Linked DNA regions of Homo sapiens: region 1 is linked to region 2. The links are contacts of gene promoters, found by promoter capture Hi-C in blood cells and fetal thymus (Javierre and others, 2016). All regions are on one chromosome and are shown on one strand. The core of a region is centred on a gene start or on the middle of the fragment in contact, and the rest is flanking DNA. Distances in the headings are between cores, read along the strand shown. Region 1 has its middle 25 kb from the start of JRKL. Region 2 holds the start of LNCRNA-IUR (lncRNA imatinib upregulated).

Region 1 (6,053 bases), core at 260-2,759, 1.3 Mb before region 2:
AGTTGTAATGTATCCCTTTTCAGCTCTGATTGTATTTATTTGGGTTGTCTCTCTTTCTTAGTTAAACTAAAGGTTTGTCTATTTTGTTTATCTTTTCAGAAAACCAACTTTTTGTTTGCTAATCCTTTGTATTGCTTTGTTCCCATTTCATTTATTTCCGCTCTGACCTATTATTATTTTTCTTCTACTAACTTTGGGTTTTGTTTGCTCTTGCTTTTCTAGTTCGTTAAGATGAATCATTAGGTTATTAAAGTTTTTCTTCCTTTTGATGTAACCATTTACAGCTATAAACTTGCCTCTTAGTACTGCTTTCACTATATCTCATAGTTTTGAGTATGTCATGTTTCCATTTTCATTTCTTTGAAGAAAATTTTCAGTTTTCTTCTCAATCTCTTCACTGACCCACTGGTCATTCAGGAACATATTATATTCCATGTGTTTATATAGTTTTCAAAATTAGTCTTGTTACTGATTTCTAGTTTTATTCCATGTAGTCAGAGAAGACACTTGATATTAGTTCAATTTTTTGAATTTTTTTTTCCCCCGAGACAGAGTTTTGCTCTGTCCCCCAGGCTAGAGTGCAGTGGCGCAATCTCCGCTCACTGCAAGCTCCACCTCCCGGGTTCACGCCATTCTCCTGCCTCAGCCTCCCAAGTAGCTGGGACTACAGGAGCCCGCCACCACACCCGGCTAATTTTTTGTATTTTTAGTAGAGACAGGGTTTCACCGTGTTAGCCAGGATGGTCTCGATCTCCTGACCTCGTGATCCACCCGCCTCCGCCTCCCAAAGTGCTGGGATTACAGGCGTGAGCCACCGCGCCCAGCCTTTGAATATTTTAAGACTTGTTCTGTGGCCTAACATATGGTTTATCATTGACATTGATCCATGTGCTGAGGAGAACAATGTGTATTCTGCAGCCGTTGAATAAAATGTTCTGTAAGTATCTATTAGGTCCATTCGGTCTATACTGCAGATTAAGTCTGATGTTTCTTTGTTGATTTTCTGTCTGGAAGATCTATTATTGTAGTGGGGTCTATCTCCTGCTTTAGCTTTAAAAATATTTGCTTTATATATTTGGGTGCTCCAGTGTTGGGTGTATATAATACTTATGATTGTTACATCCTATTGCTGAATATGCCACTTTATCATTATATAATAATAACACTGTCTCTTTTTTTTTTTTTTTTTTTTTTTTGAGACAGTCTTGCTCTGTCGCTCAGGCTGGAGTGCAGTGGTGCGATCTCAGCTCACTGTAAGCTCCACCTCCCGGGTTCACACCATTCTCCTGCCTCAGCCTCCTGAGCAGCTGGGACTATAGGCGCCTGCCACCACGCCCAGCTAATTTTTTGTATTTTTAGTAGAGACGGGGTCTCACCGTGTTAGCCAGGATGGTCTCGATCTCCTGACCAACACTGTCTCTTTTTATAGTTTTTGTCCTGAAATCTATTTTGTCTAAGTATAGCTACTCCTGCTCTTTTTTGGTTTCCATTGGCATGGAATATCTTTTTTCATCCCCTTATTTTTAGTCTACATGTGTCCTTATAAATCAAGTGCATTTCTTGTAGGCAAGAGATCATTGGGTCTTGTTTTTTCATCTATTCAGCCACTCTATGTCTTTTTGTTTGGAGAGTTTAGTCCATATATATTCAATGTTATTATTGATAAGTAAGAACTTACTACTGCCGTTCTGTTATTTGTTTTATGGTTGTTTTGTAGTCTTCTCTTCCTCCTTTCCTTCCTTTCTGTCTTACTTTTAGTGAAGGTGATTTTCTCTAGTAGTATGTTTTAATTTCTTGCTTTTTATTTTTTTCTGTATCCATTGTATGTTCTTAGATTTGAGGTTATCATAAGGCTTGCAAATAATCCTATAACCTATTATTTTAAACTGATGACAACCAAACACTGATTGCATAAACAAACAAGCAAAAATAAAACGAATAAAAATGCTATATTTTAACTTTTTTCCAACTTTTAAATTTTTGTTTTTATTTATCTTATTACACTATGTCTTAAAAATTGTACTTATTTTTTATCACTTCATCTTTTGTCTTTCTACATACAATATGAGTTTACACACCATGATAAGTGTTATAATATTATGATTTTTCTGTACTTAACTATTACTAGTGAGTTTTGTGCCTTCAGATGATTTTTTATTGCTCATTAACATCTTTTTCTTCCAGATTAAAGAAATCCCTTTAGCATTTCTTGTAGCACAGGTCTGGGGTTGATGAAATCCCTCAGCTTTTATTTGTTGGGAAAGTCTTTATTTTTCTTTGATGTTTGAAGGATATTTTCACTGGATATGCTATTCTAGGGTAAAAGTTGTTTTTCTTCAGTCCTTTATGTCATGCCACTGTCTCCTGGTCTGTAAGGCTTCCACTGAAAAGTCTACTGACAGATGCATTGGAGCTCCATTGAATGTTGTTTATTTTCTCTTGCTCCTTTTAGGATCCTTCTTTATCCTTGATCTTTGGGACCTTGATTATTAAATGCCTTGAGTTAGTCTTCTTTGGGTTAAATCTGGCTGGTATTCTATAACCTTCTTGTACTGAAATATTGTCATCTTTCTTTAGGTTTGGGAAGTTCTCTGTTATTTTCCCTTTGAATAAACTTTCTACCATTATGTTTCTCTCTACTTTCTCTTTAAAGCCAATAACATTTAGATTTGCCCTTTTGAAGCTATTTCCTAGATCTTGTAGGCATGTTTCATTCTTCTTTGTTCTTCTTCCTTTTGTCTCCTCTGATTGTATATTTTCAAATAGTCTGTCTTCAAGCTCACTAATGCTTTCTTCTGCTTGATCAATTCTGCCATGAGGCATTCTTCACTATGTCTACTGCATTTTTTAACTCCAGAATTTCTGCTTGATACTTTTTAATTATTTCAATTTCCTTGTTAAATTTATCTGAAGGATTCTGAATTTCCTGCCTCAGCCTCCCGAGTAGCTGGGACTGCAGGCGCCCGCCACCACACCTGGCTAATTTTTTGTATTTTTAGTAGAGACGGGGTTTCACCGTGTTAGCCAGGATGGTCTCAATCTCCTGACCTTTAAAAATGATGTATTTCTTGTAGTCTTCAAATCAGGACTTGTTTGAATGCATCCTTCCTGGGCAGGCTTTCCAGTTATTTGAAGAGATTTGAGTGTTGTGATCTAAATTTTTGGTCACTGCAGCCATATTTGCACAAAGGGGTATCCCAAGCCCAGTAATGCTGTGGTTCTTGCAAACTCATAAAAGTACTGCGTTGGTGGTCTTGGATATGATCTGGAAGAATTATCTGGATTACCAAGCAGACACTCTTGTTCTTTTCTTCTGCTATCTCCCAAACAGATTCCCTCTCTCTCTGTGCTGAGCTGCTAGAGCTGGGGGAAGGGTAATACAAGCACCCTTGTGGCCACCACCATTGGGGCTGCACTAGGTCAAACTTGAAGCCAGCACAGCACTGGGTCTTCCCCAAGGCCCACTGTAACCACTCCTTGGCTCCCACGTATGTTTGCTTAAGGCCCTAGAGCTCTACAATCAGCAGATGGTGAAGTCACCCAGGTTTATGTCCTTCCTTTAAGGGTGAAAAGTTCCCCCTAGGACCTGGGTGGGTCCAGAGATGCTGGCAGGGAGTCATGGCCTGAAGTCAGTAACCTTAGAAATCTATATGGTGCTCTGTTCTACCACCACTCAGCTGGCACCCAAGCCACAAGACAAAGTCCTTCCCACTCTTTCCTCCCCTTTCCCCATGAAGAGGAGTCTCTCTCCATGTCTACTACCACCACAGGCCCACAGGGGGTACTGCCAGGCTACTGCTGATGTTTGCTTTAAACCCAAGGGCTCTTCTTGTGGTGAATGCTGCCAGGCACAGGACTCACTTTTCAGGCCAGTGGGCTCCCCTCTGGCTCAGGGTAGGTTCAGAGATGACATCCAAAAGCCAAGGCCAGGAACTGAGGATCCCAAGAGCCCACTTTGTGGTATTCTCCACTAAGGCTGAGCTGGTACCTAAACTCAAGACAAAATCCCCTTTACTCTTCCTTCTTTTCCCAAGCAGTAGTCTCTCCCCATAGCCACCACAACTGTGAATGTGCTGGGTCACATCTGAAGCCAGCACATCTCAGAGTCTCACTCAAGGCCCATGGTGTGTACTACCTAGTTGTTGCTGATGATTATTCAGAGCCAAGGGCTCTTTACTCAGCAGATCATGAATCATGCCAGGTCTGGGTCCTTCCCTTCAAGGTAGTGGGTTCCCTTCTGGCCCAGGGCATGTCTGGAAATGTCTGAGAGCTAGGGTGGGCCTGAAATGGGGGCCTCACAAGCTGCCTGGTACCCTATCCTACTGTGTTTGAGCTGGTATCCAAGTTGCAAGACAAAGTATGCTTTACTCTTCCCTCTCCTCTGCCCAAGTGAAAGTAAAGGGTCTCTTTCAGAACTGTGAGCTCTACTTCCTGGAGTTGGAAGAGGGGTGATACTAGCACTCCCTTAGCTGCCCTGGCAGGTTTCTCACTATGTCACTCCCCACCCCAACCACCCACAGTCCACGGACTCTGAGCCCAGCACAGCACTAGGATTTGCCTAGCAGTTGCAGTCCTTGTGGCCTAGGCAGGCTTTCAAGGTTTTTTTTTTAGATCCCCAGAGTACTTTAGCCCACAATGGCAAGGCTTGACAAATTCAGGTTCTGACCACTGGCATGGGTGATTGCCCTTTGACTAACACTGGTCTAAATGCTCCCTCCATGAGTGCCAGCTGAGTTCTACCAAGTGTTGGCAGCACTGCATTCCAATGCAAGTTCCTTAATTGCTGTGCTCTTCCTCTCCCAAGAGTACATATTCTCTCTCCCTGCCACATGGTCACTGGCAGGGGATTGGGCAGAGGTCATGTTGGAAATTCAAGGCTGTCTTTCCTAAGATCCTCATTGCCTCTTTCAGTGATATGAAGTTAAAACCAGATGCAGTGATCATGATCACTCACCAGATTCTTGGTTCCCATGAAGGTGCTTTTTTTGTGCAGATAGTTGTCAAATTGGGTGCTCCTGTGGTGAGGACAGTTGGTAGAGGCTTCTATCTGGCCGTTCTTGATCTGCCTCCTTCTTAAAGCTTTTTGTGTATTATACTTTTAAAAGTTTTTATGTAACTTTGTATATTGCCACACAATAACAAAAAATATGGTGCATGCTTGAAAATTAATTTCCTGTTTTGAATATATGCAGGAGTCTTGGTCAACCCAGATCAGGTTTAGCCCAATTAGGCTAAATTCATAAATTCCAGCTCTTTTAATAAGGATGATGGCAATAGCCTAATTAGAAGCCAACTCTGTAAAGCTGTGGAATATATGATTAATGTTAACACATCAGTCATGATGACTGTAAAAATAAAAGACATGTATTACAGACCAGACATTTTTGCAATTTAATAAAACATTCATTACCTAGGGAAAGATTTTATGAAAACTCACTTAAGATAACACTTATATTAGATATTTTAGCATTTTTAGAGTATAATCATTATTAAGCATTTTTTATCTCTCTACTTTTGTCTTTGAGATTTTTTTAACCTAACAAATCATCTCTAAGTAAGATAAAATGGGTATTATGTATAAATGTCTGGAATGTGTGTCAACAAAATGGATTATTTGTATAATGCACTTACAGTAATCAATCAATAAATATTCATATTGTAAATATTTCTAAATGATAACCACAAAATAATTCCAGTTTTAAGAGCCAATTTGTATGCTAAAATGCATCAAAAATAATCAATCTTTCTGGGCATCTCCCTATCATCTCATTGATCACAAAAGTACTCTAACAACCTAAAGTACAAGCGTCATTTTTCTAACATACAAAAATATCTAAACATTTAATTTCAAGTCCACGGTCACAAATCTGCAGAAAGAAATTGGGGAATGACTTTTTCAACTTTTTGTTTATGAAGTAGGTTAATATTTGTAGGTAGATAAATATTTGAGATGAATGAATGACGAAATTACATAGTCACATGAAAGGAAAAAACAGTGCTTAAATTAAAAGAGATAAGTGTTTATCTAAGACACATGTTATTGTTTAATATAT
Region 2 (5,985 bases), core at 76-2,575:
AGAAGCCAGACCTGCTGGATCGACTGGAAATGCCCAGTGCCTGAGACGGGGAGGAAAGAGAAGCCGTGGGGAGGAAAAGACTGTAAACCTAAAAGGCATTGAAGTCCCACCTCACCAGTTAGGCAGGGAGGAGAAAGAGGCCTAGGGCGCTCGGGAACTTGGAATAAGGTTGCCCTCTGCGGGTGAAACTGTGAAATATCTCACAGTGGAGGAGGGCGGAGACTGTTCGCAGAGGGGCCCGGCGAAAACGTCACCCTACTGGAGGTACGAACGCATCGCAGACTGGGGGCGCCCGAGCGCATCCCAGACGCGAGGGCAAAGGCCCAGGAGGACTGTGGGGCTCTCGGAAGTATCCGATCACCTTGCGAGGAGTCCGCCGGCTGTCCGAGCCTGATGTCACTGCAACTTCGATTCCTCCGACGCCCCTACTCTTACTTCCCAGTCTTCAGGCAACTTCTCCGCTTCGGCCTCCCCTAGGCCTTGGCCCCAGAGAGGGGACGCACTCCACAGGTGGATTCGCACGTGTGGGCCCTCGGCAGCACTTTCTCGTGCAAATTAACAGGTGGCCCTCATTGTGGAAGCACCGCCCAGCCTTTCCCGGGGAGGTCACCAGGGCGAGGCCGCTCAAGGTCTGCAGGCGCCCGGCGTTAGCGGGATCCTCCCCGCGCACTGGTCCGAGGAGGCCAGGAGAGGGCGAACCAGTCCCCGACCAGCGGCCCTTCCGGGGGTGGGCTCTGACCCCACCGAGCGGTTAGAGGGTCCAGGAGCTCCAAAGGGTAGGGCAGAATTGGGTAGATGAGGGTGCATTTTTCTGGGAGGAGTCTAAGGCGTCGCTGACTCTCAAAGGCCCGCATCCGGAGAAAGGGAAAGAGCCCCGTCCCGGGAGGAAGGACGAGAGGCTGGCCCGCGGGAAGGAGCCCTGGCAGTCCCTCCTGGCCTAGGTCTACCTCTTTGATCTCACCGTCCCCGTGGCGGCGAGTGCCACCAAAGATGAGAGAGGCCAGCAGGTATCGGGAGAGAGCTGAGGGGTCGGCGCCGGCGGGACCCCAGATTGGAGCCGCCGTCGTCGGACGGGCAGACCCTGCTGTAATAGCTCCCGGCCGGCCACGGTAGGCAGGTGGGGCCCACCGCGAGTCCTAGTGAAAAACACCTTCCTCTTGATTCTCTCAAAGGAACCCGAGCCCTGGGAAGGGACATCAAGGCGCTCCCGAGACTCCGGAGACGGCCAACAGCCCCAAAAGAGAGTACTCGGCTATCCAGCCGCCCTTATCCAAGCGGAGAATCTCTCTCCACCTCCGCCCTCCCGGGACTCAAAGTTGTTTGTGGAGCCTCCAGGTTTCCTTGTAGATGGGCACGATATGCACTGTGTGCGCGCGCGCGCACACACACACACACACACACACACACACACACACACACGTATATGTATTTTTCCAGTGGCCACTGCAGGATTGCCAGCTTTCGGAAATGAGCATCCGCTCTCTCTCTCGGGACTGGGCGTGGGGTTCACCGAAAGGAGAGGAAGAGACCTTGCGTTTGCGCTGGGCCTGCTCGATGCCAGGCCATTCTAGGCTTCTGTCTATCCTGGTTTCTGGTCTGTGCGTTGTGGGTAGCAGCATTGGCGTATTACGCCGGAGGGAGCAGGCTGAGCGAGGCTCCAGAAGGTGCGCAATAGCCGGAGAGGAAAGGGCGATGCTGTCACCTAGCCCCCTCCCTGAGACTCCATTCAGCCCAGAAAAAGGAGCTGCTTTCTCCCCCATCTACCCTAGGAGAAAATAAACGGTCGCTGGCATTTTCCTGCGTCTTTTAATTTTGCCAGAACTGTTTTGGGTTGGCTATTGTGGGCCAGGATGGAGGCCTTCTCCTCCCGGGAGCAAACCTGCCCACGCCCAGGCCGGCAGTGGAGTCAGCCTTGCCCCAGCCTGCCCTCCAGGGAAACAATGCCCCTTTGTCCCTCGCCCTCCCGGGGCTGATACAGCCCCTCCCCTTAGCTTAGGGCTCCCTCCCGTTAGAGCATTCCAATGATTGCCACAAGTCACACTTTTCTTTGAGGTCTCTGCCTGGGAAGAAAACAAAGCAGCCCTCCTAATCACACGGAGGGAGTGGAACTTTTCCTGCCCTCTGACTATGTGCCAGCCTTGGCTCCTCCCTGAAGCCCTGTCTAGAGGGCTTATTAGGTCACTTATGTTTTGTACCTCGTGTGAAGTCCCACAATCAGTAGATTATAGAGGGGAGCACAAACCCAGCAGTGTCTGACATAGAGAAATTACACATACATACATACACACATACATACATACATACACACACACACATACACACATACATATACATACATACATACATACATACACACACATACATACACACATACATACACACATACACATACATACATACATACATATATACATACATATATATAGTCTTTCCACCACCCAGGATTGAAAATTAATGCTGTTTTTGACATTGTCCGTTATCCACCCAAACCCTCCAAAAAGGCTGGCTGGCATTTGCTTGGCTCTAGTTCTACCTGCCCACCTTCTCCTTTGCCTAATCCTGAGTTTTCCCCTTCCCCACGTGTGTTCCCCTTGAGCACTTTTTTGCTAACTTCCTGCATGCTACTGTCATCTCAGAGACTGATTCCTGGGGAGCCCAACCTGTAACATGGAGCTCAGTGGAAAGCACATGGAATGTGGACTGAGACATGACTGTGTTCAAACCCTGGCTCTGTCGCTAAGTGGTTACTTGGTTTGGGGCAAGGCATTTAATCCCTCTAAAGTTCACTTTCATCTGGGGGGAAAAGATAACTGTGAGGATTAAGTGAGTTTATATATAGTGTATGAGTGCCTGGACCACTGAAGCAGTGCAGCAGATGTTAGCTCCTCCTTCAGTAATATTTATTGAACATGGCATCCCAAGTGTTACTAGAATTTATATTTCTACTTTATAAATTTTACTAGAATTTATGTTTTCATATTCTTGATACTAATACTGCATTTTTGAAAGGGGTGACTCCTTCCTTATTAAAGTTTTAGAACACTATCCTAAGTGAAGTACAATGGTTACTAAATTAGATGACATCTGGATCTGGCTGATCTTGAACAAGCAGGTTAATCATATAACTTAGCTAGGTCATTGTGAAATTTTCTCCTGTGTAGAAAGAGATATTAATAGTAACTACTGTGGCAGATGGCATTTTCCATAAATGCCTACAAAATACTTTCCATCTCAGCTGCTCTTCAGAAATGACCTTGCCATTCCTCCATCAACAGATGAAATCTAATTCCCCTTCTTTTGCATCTGGGCTGGCCTCAGGGACTTACTTGGGCATTGGAATGTGGCAAAAGTGATGGTCTGGGACTTCCAAGGCTAGTTCATACAAGCTAAGTCATTCTGTGTGAGTCTTTTGGGATGTTCCCTCTTCCAACCCAGCCACCATACTGTGAGAAGCCTGAACACTTGGAAAGCCATGTGTAGGTGCTCTGGCTAACAGTCCCAGCCAACAGCAAGCATCAACTGCCCACCGAGTGAGCTCTCCTGACATCCAGCACCTTTGGGCCTTCTGAAGACTGCAGCACCAGCCCACATCTGGGACCCCAAAAAGAATGGGAATAAACTGAGCCCAGTTAGTATACAAACCAAGACAGATAATAATAAATGGTTGTTTTAAGCCATTAAGTTATGGAGTGGTTTGTTATGCAGCAATAGAAACTAAATCACTAGCTCCTAGGGTTATGTGAAATCAAGGAAGACAATGCATGCAAACTGATTACTAATGTGCTTCGTAAATAATTAATACGGTTGCAGAAAAAAGTAAGCTGATTATATGGGGAGATAAAACATGGGCACAAATAACTGCAAAACTAAGCAGGCATCATCTGAATCAATATTTAGTGGGCACCTATCCCATGCCAGACTGTCTACATAATCATAGAATCTCCAAGTAGAACAGAATTTGGGAGCTATTCTAGTTCAACCTCCCACTTAGTGAGGACATTTCTTCTTGAATGCTTGTTTAATACAACTATTATTTATTAAGCCTCGCTCCGCACCAGAAAGTGTGGTAGATGGTAATGTCAGGAAGTGGGATAGAAAGATAACTAAGACACAGCCCAGGGCCAGAGGCAAACACATGAAGAGTTTCTGCTCAGTGTCATATGTGCAGGGAGAGAGGATACGAAGAAGACAGATGCATTTCCCCTGCATGGAATGGGGTGAGTCATCTCACTATCGGCCAGCTCTGCTGATTCAGCTTCCTGGTGCTCTGGATTCTGCTGATATATTTTCTGTGCATCAACTTGTATTCTGAGTGGCAGTTCTCCAGCTCTTTGCCTTCTTGCTCCATATACCTAAGTTGGCTGTTTACACATCCACTTACCCATCTTTGCTCAAAGCTGACCCTTGTCAAGGAAGGAGGGGTTTGCCTGGATCTTGAACACCAGCCTGTGGGCTCTTTAAGGCCAATGCCTGGATCTTGTTCATCATTGAGGCCCCAGCTCCTAGAGGCACCAAAATAAAACAAAACAAAAGAGAGAGAGAGAAGAAGAAGAAAACAGCCACCAAAAAAATGCATTTCTTTTTGTGTGGGTTCAGAAAAATGCCAGAGATTCATTTAATTCAAATTTATTTCACACAACTACATCAGGGAAAATTAGCAGTGTAATCTGCTTTCTCAAGTTTCATGAGCAACGCTAAGTTTTTAATAGGCTGAGTGTTTAATAGGCAAGTAAAATCAGCCAACAAACAAACAAACAAAAAAACGCTGGAGTTCGAGTCCTTTACAGCCAAGTAGTTGGCAGCTGCTACGGTTATTAGCTATCATAGTTTCCCACATGCAGCCATGTTTTATGGCTTCTTAAAATTGTTTTTAAAAATGTTTCACAAACCATGGGTTTCACACAAATATAAGGGTTAGAATTTCAATTTTAAAAAATAAACATAAGTTTGGTGTCACATCAGAGAAAGCTCTAGTTTTCTCCTTTTAAGAAACAGAGGAGGTAACTCACCAGAGCAGAGGAGTCATCTGAATTGGGCCCTTTATTCTCAGCCTAACCTGCTGAGGAGCGTCATCTACAACTCACAAGGTACTGGGAGCAGGAGAATTTGCATGGATAGACAAAAGTTTGCTTCATTGCTCAGTTTCCCTTTAATCATTTCTCCTCTTTATTCTCCTCTTTCTTATTTGAAACTTATTCCTTGTTTGTATTAATGTTTCTCTGCAGGGCTGTAACTGTAGTTTATTACAAAACAGTAGAGTACAGGGCTCTTTCATTTAGCAGCTTAGTATAGTTTTTGTTGCAACAGTGTATTCATATCATGGGGTGGGGGGTAGAATCTATTTAATCAACTCTGGGGACAGTACAGGCCCCTATACAAAATCACCAAAACTTCCCTATGGAGAAAAAGATGGGAAATTAGAAGAAAAAATAAAGCTTGAGGGGGAAAAGGGTAGAGCTTTTCATTTGGAAAAAGAGGAGGAATGGGGAGTTGAGAATCAGTGTGTACTCTTGGGTCACTGGGTGCAACCTAAGAGGCTGGGGTGAATCCAGAAGCTGCTGGACCCCTGGGACCTGGGGGCAAATTGCAATGGTTGGTGGGTGAACTTCTGGGCCTGGATATGAAAATCAGCAATGAAAGGCAAACACTAGAAATTGGTAGTAGACCCCGGAAGTTGGTGGTGGATTCCTGGTGCCAGGATTAGAACCAGAGAGCTGCAGACACAACAGAGTAAGAGTAGCTCAGGGCTCTGAGGGTGTAGGACCACATGTGAGGGTGGCGGCAAAAATGTAAGGCAGTGATGGCCAAGGAGGAAAACTATTTCTCAGTAGGAGTGGAGCCTCTTCATGCCAGGAGGTCTGGTGGTGGTGCCACCCTCTTGAAGTGGAAGTGGAGAGAAACTGTTCCAGTGTGTTTGAAACTTGCCTGGTCAGCTTCTCTGCTCAACACCCTGAAGGTGATGGTCTTGTGAGACTCATTGCATGT

Evidence for each region. The method cuts DNA at HindIII sites, captures the fragments that hold promoters and counts their contacts. A CHiCAGO score of 5 or more calls a contact.
Region 1: a fragment that was not itself captured here is called in contact with the fragment with the promoter of LNCRNA-IUR in region 2 in 1 of 17 cell types (endothelial precursors); the score reaches 5.4 in endothelial precursors.

The regions. Positions count from the first base shown.
Region 1 is chr11:96,411,708-96,417,760 of GRCh38, reverse strand. No RefSeq gene overlaps it. Among named protein-coding and RNA genes, the nearest start is that of JRKL, 25 kb to the right of the region's middle. RefSeq lists an enhancer at 5,740-6,053. The HindIII fragment of the contact is 7,145 bases long and covers 1-5,081 here.
Region 2 is chr11:95,145,879-95,151,863 of GRCh38, reverse strand. LNCRNA-IUR (lncRNA imatinib upregulated) reads right to left here and starts at 1,325. Exons shown (of 3, transcript NR_110303.1): 1 at 116-1,325. RefSeq lists a silencer at 96-205, enhancers at 726-855, 456-997, 998-1,539 and a cis regulatory region at 3,925-4,555. The HindIII fragment of the contact is 7,632 bases long and covers 1-5,437 here.